Regions from separate parts of the Homo sapiens genome. Here all the other regions are linked to region 1. The links are contacts of gene promoters, found by promoter capture Hi-C in blood cells and fetal thymus (Javierre and others, 2016). All regions are on one chromosome and are shown on one strand. The core of a region is centred on a gene start or on the middle of the fragment in contact, and the rest is flanking DNA. Distances in the headings are between cores, read along the strand shown.

Region 1 (3,741 bases), core at 622-3,121:
AGGGGCTGCCTAGGACACTGCAGCTTTTGTGCCTTCTCCCTGCTGCCAACACCCCCACACACACTGCTGCAGCCACTCTAAAGCCCTTTGTCTTTCATTGCTTAGTCACCCCCTTTGTCCTCATCTCAAATAGGGGAGTGGAAAGGGGCAGTAGAGTTCTCTGGTGATAGCTCCTCTTGCCCCTGCCCCTTCTGGTCTCCCACCCTTTGTCCGACTCCTCTAGTCCCAGCCCCGTTGGCTTAGAACCAGGGTCAGGCAAGTGGTGGGTCAAGAGGTGGGTCTGGCAGTCACAAGGGGGTGGGTGATCCAGGAAGTGATAGGCACCAGGGCAGGTATTACCGACCTGAGCAGGAAGGGAGGGGGAAAGGAAGTATTCTGACGGATATGATATGCGGGGGACAGGAGGTGACAAAGCAGAGTGAATAGGGGAATAGAGGCAAGAGGAGGTGGTCCACTTCTGGGAAAGGAAAGAGACTGCTGACTGCACTCTCCTTCCTGGGGATTTCCTGGGGAAACAAGCAGCCAGAGGATGGGGTGAGCAGAAATTGCCCCTACTTCTGAACCCTTCCTTGCCTTGAGAGTTCATACCCAAGACCTCTTTTCCGAGTTCCCTCCTATCCAAAGCCAAAGGAATAATTTGCTTCCTTTCCCTAACACCACCTCTTCCTCCCCAGCCACTTTCCCCACCCCAGGCAATGGATTTCTCCCAGTACCCTAATTTCCCTATATGCACAATGCTGTCTCCACCCTCTCCCTGCCCCAGGGAGAATTAAAAAGAAAAGATGACTAGATATTCCAGGAACCACTGGGTTCTCAGAGCAAGGTGGGGTGGATGGTGGGAGCCAGGTGGGGATTCTCCCAGATTGATACTGGGTGAATCTGGGTTCCTGAGAGCAAGTCTTGCCTATGCTGGGGGCTGGCTGACTTGAGGCTGGGGGAGGGTTTAGGGCAGTTGGGAGTGGGTAGGAGCAGGGCCAAAAGCCTGGGGGAAGCTACTGGGAGCTGGGCCAGGGAAATGGGGAGTCAGGAAGTGGGGAGGGGGAACCCTGGGGGGAAATGGAGGCGGAATGGCTGTTCTGGGCTTTGGAGGGGGTGGGTAGTGGTAACTCAGGAAGGGGGATCCTGAGGGAGAGAAGGGACGTTAGAAAAGAGGAGGTGCCACCCTGGATCCGCCTTCTATAAAAGGAAAAGTCGTTAACCCCTCCTGCCTTGTCATCTGCCGCCTCTGTTATGTTCATTCCAAGCAGGATCATCCTACCTTTGGGCAGTCAACTCCCTGATCACTGTCTCCTTGCCTCCCCCAATGTTCTGCCTTTTTTACTCTTCCCAGCTGCTCAGTTCTATCCTGAGCCATGTCAAGCTACCTCTTTTATTTGTTCTTCCCTCTTGATGCCTCCTTACCTGTTCCCTACCCTCTTTTCTCAGGCAGCTCACTCAGTCCCCTCAGCCCTGGAAACCAGCCACTAGGGCCAAAGGGCAGCATGAGGGAGCCTTGAGAAAAGAGAAGCCATGGTAGGTTAGACTATAAGAGCAGGAATTCTCCCAGGACCGTGATCCTATCTGTGCATGCCGGCCAGGCCCTTTCCCTCACTCTCTGCCTCTCCTGGGGCTCTGTCCCACCAAAAAGGGAAAGAGACAGCTGAGGGCTGATTGTGGGGTTTGGGAAAAGGCTATGTCATCAGCTGGCCCAGTGCCTATTATCCATTCGGCTGCTAGAGATTCCCCTCCCCTGGGCAAGTCCCATTTTTTTGGGAAGCGATGATACACCCATCTGAGTCCCACCGACAGAGCTCAGCTGAGTGGCTTAGAGATCAGCCAATCAATCGCAGAGGCTCACCATGCTTAAAAGAGCTGGCGCGGAGAGAGGCTGGGGAGAACCCACAGGGAGACCCACAGACACATATGCACGAGAGAGACAGAGGAGGAAAGAGACAGAGACAAAGGCACAGCGGAAGAAGGCAGAGACAGGGCAGGCACAGAAGCGGCCCAGACAGAGTCCTACAGAGGGAGAGGCCAGAGAAGCTGCAGAAGACACAGGCAGGGAGAGACAAAGATCCAGGAAAGGAGGGCTCAGGAGGAGAGTTTGGAGAAGCCAGACCCCTGGGCACCTCTCCCAAGCCCAAGGACTAAGTTTTCTCCATTTCCTTTAACGGTCCTCAGCCCTTCTGAAAACTTTGCCTCTGACCTTGGCAGGAGTCCAAGCCCCCAGGCTACAGAGAGGAGCTTTCCAAAGCTAGGGTGTGGAGGACTTGGTGCCCTAGACGGCCTCAGTCCCTCCCAGCTGCAGTACCAGTGCCATGTCCCAGACAGGCTCGCATCCCGGGAGGGGCTTGGCAGGGCGCTGGCTGTGGGGAGCCCAACCCTGCCTCCTGCTCCCCATTGTGCCGCTCTCCTGGCTGGTGTGGCTGCTTCTGCTACTGCTGGCCTCTCTCCTGCCCTCAGCCCGGCTGGCCAGCCCCCTCCCCCGGGAGGAGGAGATCGTGTTTCCAGAGAAGCTCAACGGCAGCGTCCTGCCTGGCTCGGGCGCCCCTGCCAGGCTGTTGTGCCGCTTGCAGGCCTTTGGGGAGACGCTGCTACTAGAGCTGGAGCAGGACTCCGGTGTGCAGGTCGAGGGGCTGACAGTGCAGTACCTGGGCCAGGCGCCTGAGCTGCTGGGTGGAGCAGAGCCTGGCACCTACCTGACTGGCACCATCAATGGAGATCCGGAGTCGGTGGCATCTCTGCACTGGGATGGGGGAGCCCTGTTAGGCGTGTTACAATATCGGGGGGCTGAACTCCACCTCCAGCCCCTGGAGGGAGGCACCCCTAACTCTGCTGGGGGACCTGGGGCTCACATCCTACGCCGGAAGAGTCCTGCCAGCGGTCAAGGTCCCATGTGCAACGTCAAGGCTCCTCTTGGAAGCCCCAGCCCCAGACCCCGAAGAGCCAAGGTAGGCATCTCTGGAGTCTGTGTCCTGCGGTGTCCTCCCGCCATGTCTGTCCTACTGACCCCTATTCACCCTCTCTCCACCCACTTACACTTCTGGCCGTTCTGCTTCCCTCCCTTCTGCCTGCCTTTCCTTTCTCCATGAGCCTCCTTTCTTGGTAAGGCTCAGGCCTCTCCCCTTCACCCTTCTCCTAGCCAGACCCACCGAGGGTTCTCAGAGGTGGGTCACAGACTCTGGGCTGGGAATAACTGCTCCCTCTCCCCACCCCACCCCTTCCTGGCCATGGCATCTCCTACTGACACAGTCCCCAGCAGTAAAGGTCTCCTAACAGCCCCTTGGCCTTGGCTCTTTTCTCTGCTCCAAATTTGATTTTCATCCCCCACTCCCAGCTATAGGAGTCAGGTTTGAGGCCCTAGGGCTTGGTGTCTGGCTTCTGATGCTGCCTTTAAAATCACTGTGGCAAACTGCAAACTAGGGCAGGAGTGGCAAGAGAGGGAGGGTATCCCATACCTCCTTCTGGTCAATCCCCTTCACACACTGTGGCCGGACTGCGAGGCTGCCTGAGGCTCCATCCTTTCCTCCCTCCCACTCCTGGTCTCCCCCTTCTTCCCTTCCCTCCTCCCTCCTCCCTCTCTAGCTTTAATCCAGACCAGACGCTCCCTCCACAACCGCCACGCTGAGCTCTGGCCCTGGCCCTAGCTGCTGACTGAATCGTTCCTCCAACCACACAGGGCAGACACGTTGCAGCCCAGCCCTCTAGCCCTGGTCCCATAGGCCCCAGCCACACTCAGGCCTGGAGAACCCCAAAGTCCCT
Region 2 (3,741 bases), core at 455-2,954, 160 kb before region 1:
AAGTTGATAAAACAATATTTACCATTACTAAGTGGTGCCATATATATACAAGTATATATTTATATATTTTATATATAAATAAACTTCATTAAAAAACATATATTTTCTCCTTTTTGTGGAGAACGGGGTCTCATTATATTGTTCAGGCAGGTCTTGAACTCCTGGACTCAAGCTATCCTCCTGCCTCTGCTTCCCTAAAAGCTGGCATTACGGGCGTGAACTTCTGCACCCAGCCACTCCAGTGGCGCCATCTTGGCTCACAGCAACGTCAGCCTCCCAGGTTCAAGCGATTCTCTTGCCTCAGCCCTGCCAGTGGCTGGGACTACAGGCGCATGCCACCATGCCAAGCTAATTTTTGTATTTTTAGTAGAGATGGGGTTTCACCATGTTGGCCAGGATGGTCTCAAACTCTTGACCTCAAGTGATACACCCTCCTCAGCCTCCCAAAGTGCTGGGATTACAGGCATGAGCCACCACGCCCAGCCCCAGCCTATATTTTCTATTCTATTTAAATTTCTTTTTTTGTTGGTAGCATGCCACTAAATTGGTTTTCTACCAATTGAGTTAAAACCCACTTTTCTTTTTAATACTAAAAAATAGAGATAGACTCTTGTTATGTCTTGCCCAGGCTAGTATTGAACTCCTGGGCTCAAGCAATCCTCCCGCCTCAGCCTCCCAAAGTGCTGAGATTACAGGTGTGAGCCATCTCACCCAGCCCCTACCCCACCACCCACCCCCACTTTTTTTTTTTTAATTTTTTGAGACAGGGTCTCACTTTGTCACCTAGGCTGGAGTGCAGTGGCACAATCTCAGCTCACTGAGGCCTTGACCTCCCAGGTTCAAGCAATCCTCCTGCCTCAGCCTCCCAAGTAGCTGGGACTACAGGCACCCATCACCATGCCCAGCTAATTTTTTGTATTTTTGGTAGAGATGAAGTTTTGCCACGTTGCCCAGGCTAGTTTTGAACTCCTGAGCTCAAGCAATTCACCTGCCTTGGCCTCCCAAAGTGCTAGGGTTACAGACATGAGCTACCATGCCCCCAGCCCCACATTTAACAAAACACTAATTTTGACTCTCTTGTGTCTTAGGGATATTAACATATTAATATTATATTATAAGTCACTAAATGAGCCCATGGGGCAAAAGCAGTCTTCATTTTCCACACTTCCCACATACATGGCGCCTTAACACACACATACACACATACACCCACAGTCTGAATGTAAAACTGCCTAAATTAGGAGTCAGTTCAGAGAAAAGATGGAAGCCCAGAAAAAAAAAAAAAAATCAAGATGAGAAGATGCCTCCACCTCAACCCTCAAATTGCTTCTAACTAGGAGATTAGGAGTCAAGCAGATTCCACAAAGAGTTGTTTTGCTTAAATAAGGACAATGTTTTATAGAGAGTGAGTCCTACTGGGTAGCAGTAGTAGGCAGGGATATTCCCTAGAATGCCACAGACCCTATAACATCCTACTCTTTCACTCCTCACTCCCCCATTAGATCTTCTGGCAAGTCAACTATCAAGTTCAGAGGCCAAAAACTGCAGACTGTCACAGAAAACACAAAATCCTGTCCCACACTCACAGCCAGTACTTGCTAGAAGAAAAAATAAAAGCAGACTTAAGGACCCTTAGGTTCTTCACTTCCCTCAACAAAAAGATTACCATCACAGGCAAGAACCAGGGCAGAAAAGCTCTAAGTTCTGCAATTTTATAAAACCTCCCCTCTCTTACCCCCATATTGAGACAAAGACAAATATAGGGCAAGTCTCTGTCTGAGCCAAAATATGAACAGAGGAAGCTGATCAGCTGATTTTCTTTACAGAGCTTTGTTCTGTGGAATAGGAAGTCATTAATGGAAATGTCCTCCCTCTCTACTGCCTCCCCCTCAGGGAAGTAAAAAGTCATTTTAAATCAAACTGAACACTGCCCCAGGGAACAGTTGATACAGACACTTAATTTAATAAGTAATTTAGTCTCTCATTTTTTTTATTCCATTAAACTGTCTATTGGACCAGACTGAAATCCAGAAAGTGCTTGTCTCTAAGGCTATGATTTGGAAGTAATAAAAAGTCAAATTAAGGCAAAAGCATCCATCTGACAGTTGACTCAGATTCAGAAGTAATGAAAATACAGAAAGAACTGAATTTTAATTGCCTTCTTGGAAGCAAAACTAGGGAGACTACAAAATATAAAATCTTTTCTTTTTTTTTTTTTTGAGACTGAGTTTCACTTTTGTCACCCAGGCTAGAGTGCAGTGGCATGATCTTGGCTCACTGCAACCTCTGCCTCCTGGATTCTCCTGCCTCAGCCTCCCAAGTAGCTGGGATTACAGGCACATGCCACCACCCCCAGCTAATTTTTGTATTTTTTTTTTTTTTTTTGAGACGGAATTTCGCTCTTGTTGCCCAGGCTGGATGGAGTACAATGGCATGATCTCAGCTCACTGAAACCTCTGCCTCCCGGGTTCAAGCAAGTCTCCTGCCTCAGCCTCCCGAGTAGCTGGGATTACAGGCATGTGCCACCATGCCCGGCTAATTTTGTATTTTTAGTAGAGACAGCGTTTCTCCATGTTGGTAAGGCTGGTCTCGAACTCCCGGCCTCAGATTATCCGCCCGCCTCGGCCTCCCAAAATGCTGAGATTACAGGCGTGAACCACTGTGCCCGCCTATTTTTTTTTTAGATGGGGTCACTCTGTCACCCAGGCTGAAGTGCAGTGGCACAATCTCGGCTCAGTGCAACCTCCGCCTCCCAGGCTCATTCGATCCTCCCACCTCAGCCTTACGGGTAGCTGGGACCACAGGCGCACACCACCATACCTGGCTAATTTTAGAAACCAGTTTTGAGCAGACGATGAGGTCACATAGGAGGCAACATGGACAGTTTCCAATCTATTAAATGATTCCTGCCATGTGCAGTGGCTCGCGCCTGTAATCCCAGCACTTTGGGAAGCCAAGAGTTCAAGACCAGGCTGGCCAACATGGTGAAACCCCATCTCTACTAAAAAATACAAAAAAAAAAAAATTTGCTGGGTGTGGTGGCAGGCACCTGTAAGGCTGGCCAACATGGCAAAATCCCGTCTCTACTAAAAATACCAAAAAAAAAAAAAAATTAGCTGGCCGTGGTTGTGGGCACCTGTAATCTCAGCTACTTGGGAGGCTAAGGCAGGAGAATCACTTGAACCTGGGAGGTGGAGGTTGCAGTGAGCTGAGATTGCACCATTGCACTCCAGCCTGGGCAATGGAGCAAGACTCTGTCTCAAAAAAAAAAAAAAAAAAAAAAGATTCCTAACCTCAATATTGAAACCTGGAATTCTTGGCACCCAGTTTCTATTAAAGTTGGCCCAATTCTGTCCAACATCTCAAAACAGAAATGCAATATAATGTGTAGATAAGAAAAGGTAATCTATTTGAGTCCTGTCAGAAGCACTACTCTGGGTCAACAGGAACGGAAGAATGAAAGCAGCAACAATGGTTATCTAGCTCATAACTGAATCCCCAGTGTCTACAACAGTACCTGACACATAAATAGGTACCAATTAATATTTATGTCATAAACATGCATTCTATGCCTTCAGGGATCTCTTTTAAATATCCCTCTTAAAAATGAAGAGTTCAGCAGGGCACAGTGGCTCACGTCTGTAATCCTAGCACTTTGGGAAGCTGAGAGGGGTGGATCACAAGGTCAGGAGTTTGAGACCAGCCTGGCTAACATGGGGAAACCCCATCTCTACTAAAAAT
Region 3 (3,741 bases), core at 572-3,071, 140 kb before region 1:
GAACACAAGTTCCCCCAATGTCTCAAGGAGACTAATAGAGAGCAAACTCAGATTTACCTATGCAGCACTCTCATGTACAATAACCTCTTCTGGCTCCCACTGAACTGAATAGCTTTCAGCTAAACTAGTAATCACATCACACAGAAATGCCAGTTGAAATACAATACTAGTTAGGTAGTTATTATAGTCAATATGCAGGGGACCAAAATAAGATACTTCTAGAGCCAAAAAATATGATTATAAATGGAATAGAAATTTGGGACAGAAATATATAAAACACATTAACAAAAAAGAGAGTGGTATTCATTTTGTATTCACCAAATATTTACTAAATTATCTACTGCATTCTAGGTACCCTACTAGATAATTAAAAATACAGACAGATGCAGTCTAAGCCCTCAGGGAACAGACAATCCAGTAAGGAAGAACAACAATGAACAAGTAAATTACAACTATGATTATGAAAGAAAAACTAGAATGCTTTAAGAGCATGTATCCAGGGAACATAATCTAGTTTTTGTTTCTGTTTTTGGTGGGGGTAGGAGAGCAAAGTATGCTATAAGGCTAAATAAAGGAAAGCTAAAAAAGTAAAAATATGTTACATGCACATTCTTGTGAGAAAATAAATACATAAAAAAGCAAAAATGTCTATGTCTCCAGCACCAGCCAGACATAATTTTTAAATCTAGCTGACCCTCTTGTAAAGTATATCCCTACTGTGAAAAGATACATCAGATCCCAGAAAACTGATTATAATCTGCACTCCATATAATAAACCTTCCTACCTAAAAAGGATGTACTAATTATCTAAGACCAGTATATAATTCACTCTGTAGCTGCAGTTCATATTATATAAATGAATAAATAGACATTCTGGTCTGTAAATCAAGATTTTGTGAGACTGGTTAGTGAGCTAGTCTTTGGGGGACTGAGCATGTCTAGGTGATAAGAATGGGTGCTAAAACTGAGCTTCTGGAAAAATAAGGTTGGACTGTGTTTCATCAATGATCAGTCAGCCAGCCCATCTCTATTACATTTCTCTGCTCTCTATAATTTCAATAAACATGATATCAGGAAGTGCTAGGGAATGGTTTAAAAATTTGCTAAGAAACTAATCTGGGCCAGGCACAGTGGCTCATGTCTGTAATCCCAGCACTTTGGAAGGCTGAGGCAGGCGGATCATGAGGTCAGATCAAGACCATCCTGGCTAACATGGTGAAACCCCGTCTCTACTAAAAATACAAAAATTTAGCCAGGCGTGGTGGCACATGCCTGTAATCCCAGCTACTCAGGAGGCTGAGGCAGGAGAATCGCTGGAACCCAGCAGGCGGAGGTTGCAGTGAGCCGAGATCGCGCCACTGCACTCCAGCCTGGGCAAAAGAGCAAGACTCTGTCTCAAAAAGAAAAAAAAGAAGAAAAGAATCTGAGCACAGTGCAAACTCATAATTAATTGTTAAAGGGATGAATGAACAATAAACTTAAGAGACTTACTGTTCCCTCTAAATCAAGTGCTGAGTTTCAAAGGAGGCGGAGACTAGGGCCAATGAAACAGCCAAGTTTTTCAAAGAAGCACATATGTGTGTGTAAAAACACATATACATACCTGCACTCAAAGCAATACCAGTGCCACGGTGGCAGATGGACATCGCCATGGGAAGAGACCAACTGTAAAGAAACACACAAAGACAATTTTAAAAAGGAAAAGATGACACCATAGTAGAGAGTCTATCTTGGCAAAAATATAAACTAATTCTGAAATAGGCACTTTTTTTTCTTTTTTTTTTTTTGAGACAGAGTCTCGCTCTGTTGCCCAGGCTGGCAATGGCATGATCTCAGCTCACTGCAACCTCCACTTCCCGGGTCCAAGCAATTCTCCTGAATAGGTAATATTTTCTTAAAACAAAACAAAACAAAACAAAAAATCACCAGCTTTTGCATTCCTGTCTTTTCACTTTTTTTTTTACCCCCCCGGAACAGGGTCTTGCTCTGTCACCCAGGCTGGAGTCCCATGCCACAGTCTCAGCTCACTCCAACCTCTGCCTCCCGGGTTCATGAGATTCTCCTGCCTCAGCCTCCTGAGTAGCTGGGATTACAGGTGCCTGCCACCAGGTCCGCCTAATTTTTGTATTTTTAGTAAAGGGGTTTCATCACCTTAGCCAGGCTGGTCTTGATCTGATCTCATGATCCGCCCACCTCGGCCTCCCAAAGTACTGGAATTACAGGTGTGAGCCACTGTGCCCAGCCGTGTTTCCACTTTTTACTTTAAAAATACAAACCTGGGCCAGGCGCGGTGCCTCACGCCTGTAATCCCAGCACTTTGGGAGGCCAAGGCAGGTGGATCACCTGAGGTCAGGAGTTCGCAATCAGCCTGACCAACATGGAGAAACCCCGTCTCTACTGAAAATACAAAATTAGCCGGATGTGGTGGCACATGCCTGTAATCTCAGTTACTCGGGAGGCTGAGGCAGGAAAATTGCTTGAACCCAGGAGGTGGAGGTTGCGGTGAGCCAAGATCGCACCATTGCACTCCAGCTCCAGTCTGGGCAACAAGAGTGAAACTCTGTCTCCAAAAAAAAAAAAAAAAAAAAAAAAAAAACACCTGTATCAGGATTAGGTTACAAAAATAAATTAAAGAATAAAGAAAACTGATTTATGGAGAAGGATCCCTACCTTTACCAGACTGCATCACTGATAGGGCTGAGAAAAAAAAAAATGATTATAACTCAAAACTCCTTTCGCAAGGAGAAACATGGGTCAAAGACACTCATTAAAGTTGGAGCTGGCATGGTGGCTCACACCTGTAATCCTAGTACTTTGGGAGGCCAAGGCGGGGGCCGTTGAGTTCAGGAGTTCAAGGTCAACCTAGGCAACGTAATGAGACCCCATCTTTACGAAAAAAAAAAAAAAAATTAGCTGGGTGTGGTGGCAGAGGCCTGTGGTCCCAGCTACTTGGGAGACTGAAGTGAGAGGGTCGCTTGAGGCCAGGAACTCCAGACTGCAGTGAGCTATGACTGTGCCACTGTACTCCAGCCCGGGTTGGGGAGAGAGAGACAGAGACCATGCCTCTAAATAAATAAATACAGTTGATACAATTAGAAAGTAATCACTATAGGCCGGGCACGGTGGCTCACGCCTGTAATCCCAGCACTTTAAGAGGCTGAGGCGGGTGGATCATGAGGTCAGGTGTTCGAGACCAGGCTGGCCAACACGGTGAAACCCCATCTCTACTAAAAATACAAAAATTTAGCCAGGCGTGGTGGTGCATGCCTGTAATCCCAGCTACTTGGGAGGCTGAGGCAGGAGAATGACTTGAATCCGGGGGGCGGAGTTTGGCGTAAATGGAGATCACGCCACTGCACTCCAGTCTGGGCGACAGAGGGTGACTCCATCTCAAAAAAAAGAAAAAGAAAGAAAGCAATCACTGTAATACAACCTGGGTCCCTCTATTTCTCCAGGTATAACACTGATGGAAGAAAACCTGAGTTTCATTTATCCACAGTTTCATATAATACATGGTCATCCTTGAATCCTCCCTTATTATATGCCCCAAAATATCCAAACTGAACATACCACTTATTTCCTAATAAGTTACCTATCCCAAATTTTTATATCCAATCTTCTGGATTTAGTATATATTTCTTAATCCACAGTAGTTCTGAAATACTTTTCATCATCAAACCCCTTTTTAAATTATGAATCATCAACTTTCCATTGAAGGACAACCAACATTGTTATTCTAGA

What was found. Contacts are between HindIII fragments. The CHiCAGO score rates a contact against its expected background, and 5 or more counts as called.
Region 2: a contact is called between a fragment that was not itself captured here and the fragment with the promoter of ADAMTS4 in region 1, in 8 of 17 cell types (erythroblasts, M2 macrophages, monocytes and 5 more). The highest score is 8.8, in erythroblasts.
Region 3: a contact is called between a fragment that was not itself captured here and the fragment with the promoter of ADAMTS4 in region 1, in 10 of 17 cell types (M2 macrophages, monocytes, erythroblasts and 7 more). The highest score is 9.8, in M2 macrophages.

Annotation. Positions count from the first base shown.
Region 1 is chr1:161,197,184-161,200,924 of GRCh38, reverse strand. It overlaps ADAMTS4 (ADAM metallopeptidase with thrombospondin type 1 motif 4), which reads left to right and starts at 1,871. Exons shown (of 9, transcript NM_005099.6): 1 at 1,871-2,930. The coding sequence starts at 2,298. It also overlaps a transcript of NDUFS2 not described here. RefSeq lists enhancers at 1-606, 3,132-3,741. The HindIII fragment of the contact is 11,321 bases long and covers 1-3,741 here.
Region 2 is chr1:161,357,575-161,361,315 of GRCh38, reverse strand. All of the region lies in intron 5 of SDHC (succinate dehydrogenase complex subunit C), which reads right to left. Among named protein-coding and RNA genes, the nearest start is that of CFAP126, 8.4 kb to the left of the region's middle. The HindIII fragment of the contact is 4,866 bases long and covers 1-3,741 here.
Region 3 is chr1:161,338,518-161,342,258 of GRCh38, reverse strand. It overlaps SDHC (succinate dehydrogenase complex subunit C), which reads right to left. Exons shown (of 6, transcript NM_003001.5): 4 at 1,604-1,665. Among named protein-coding and RNA genes, the nearest start is that of SDHC, 26 kb to the right of the region's middle. The HindIII fragment of the contact is 9,839 bases long and covers 1-3,741 here.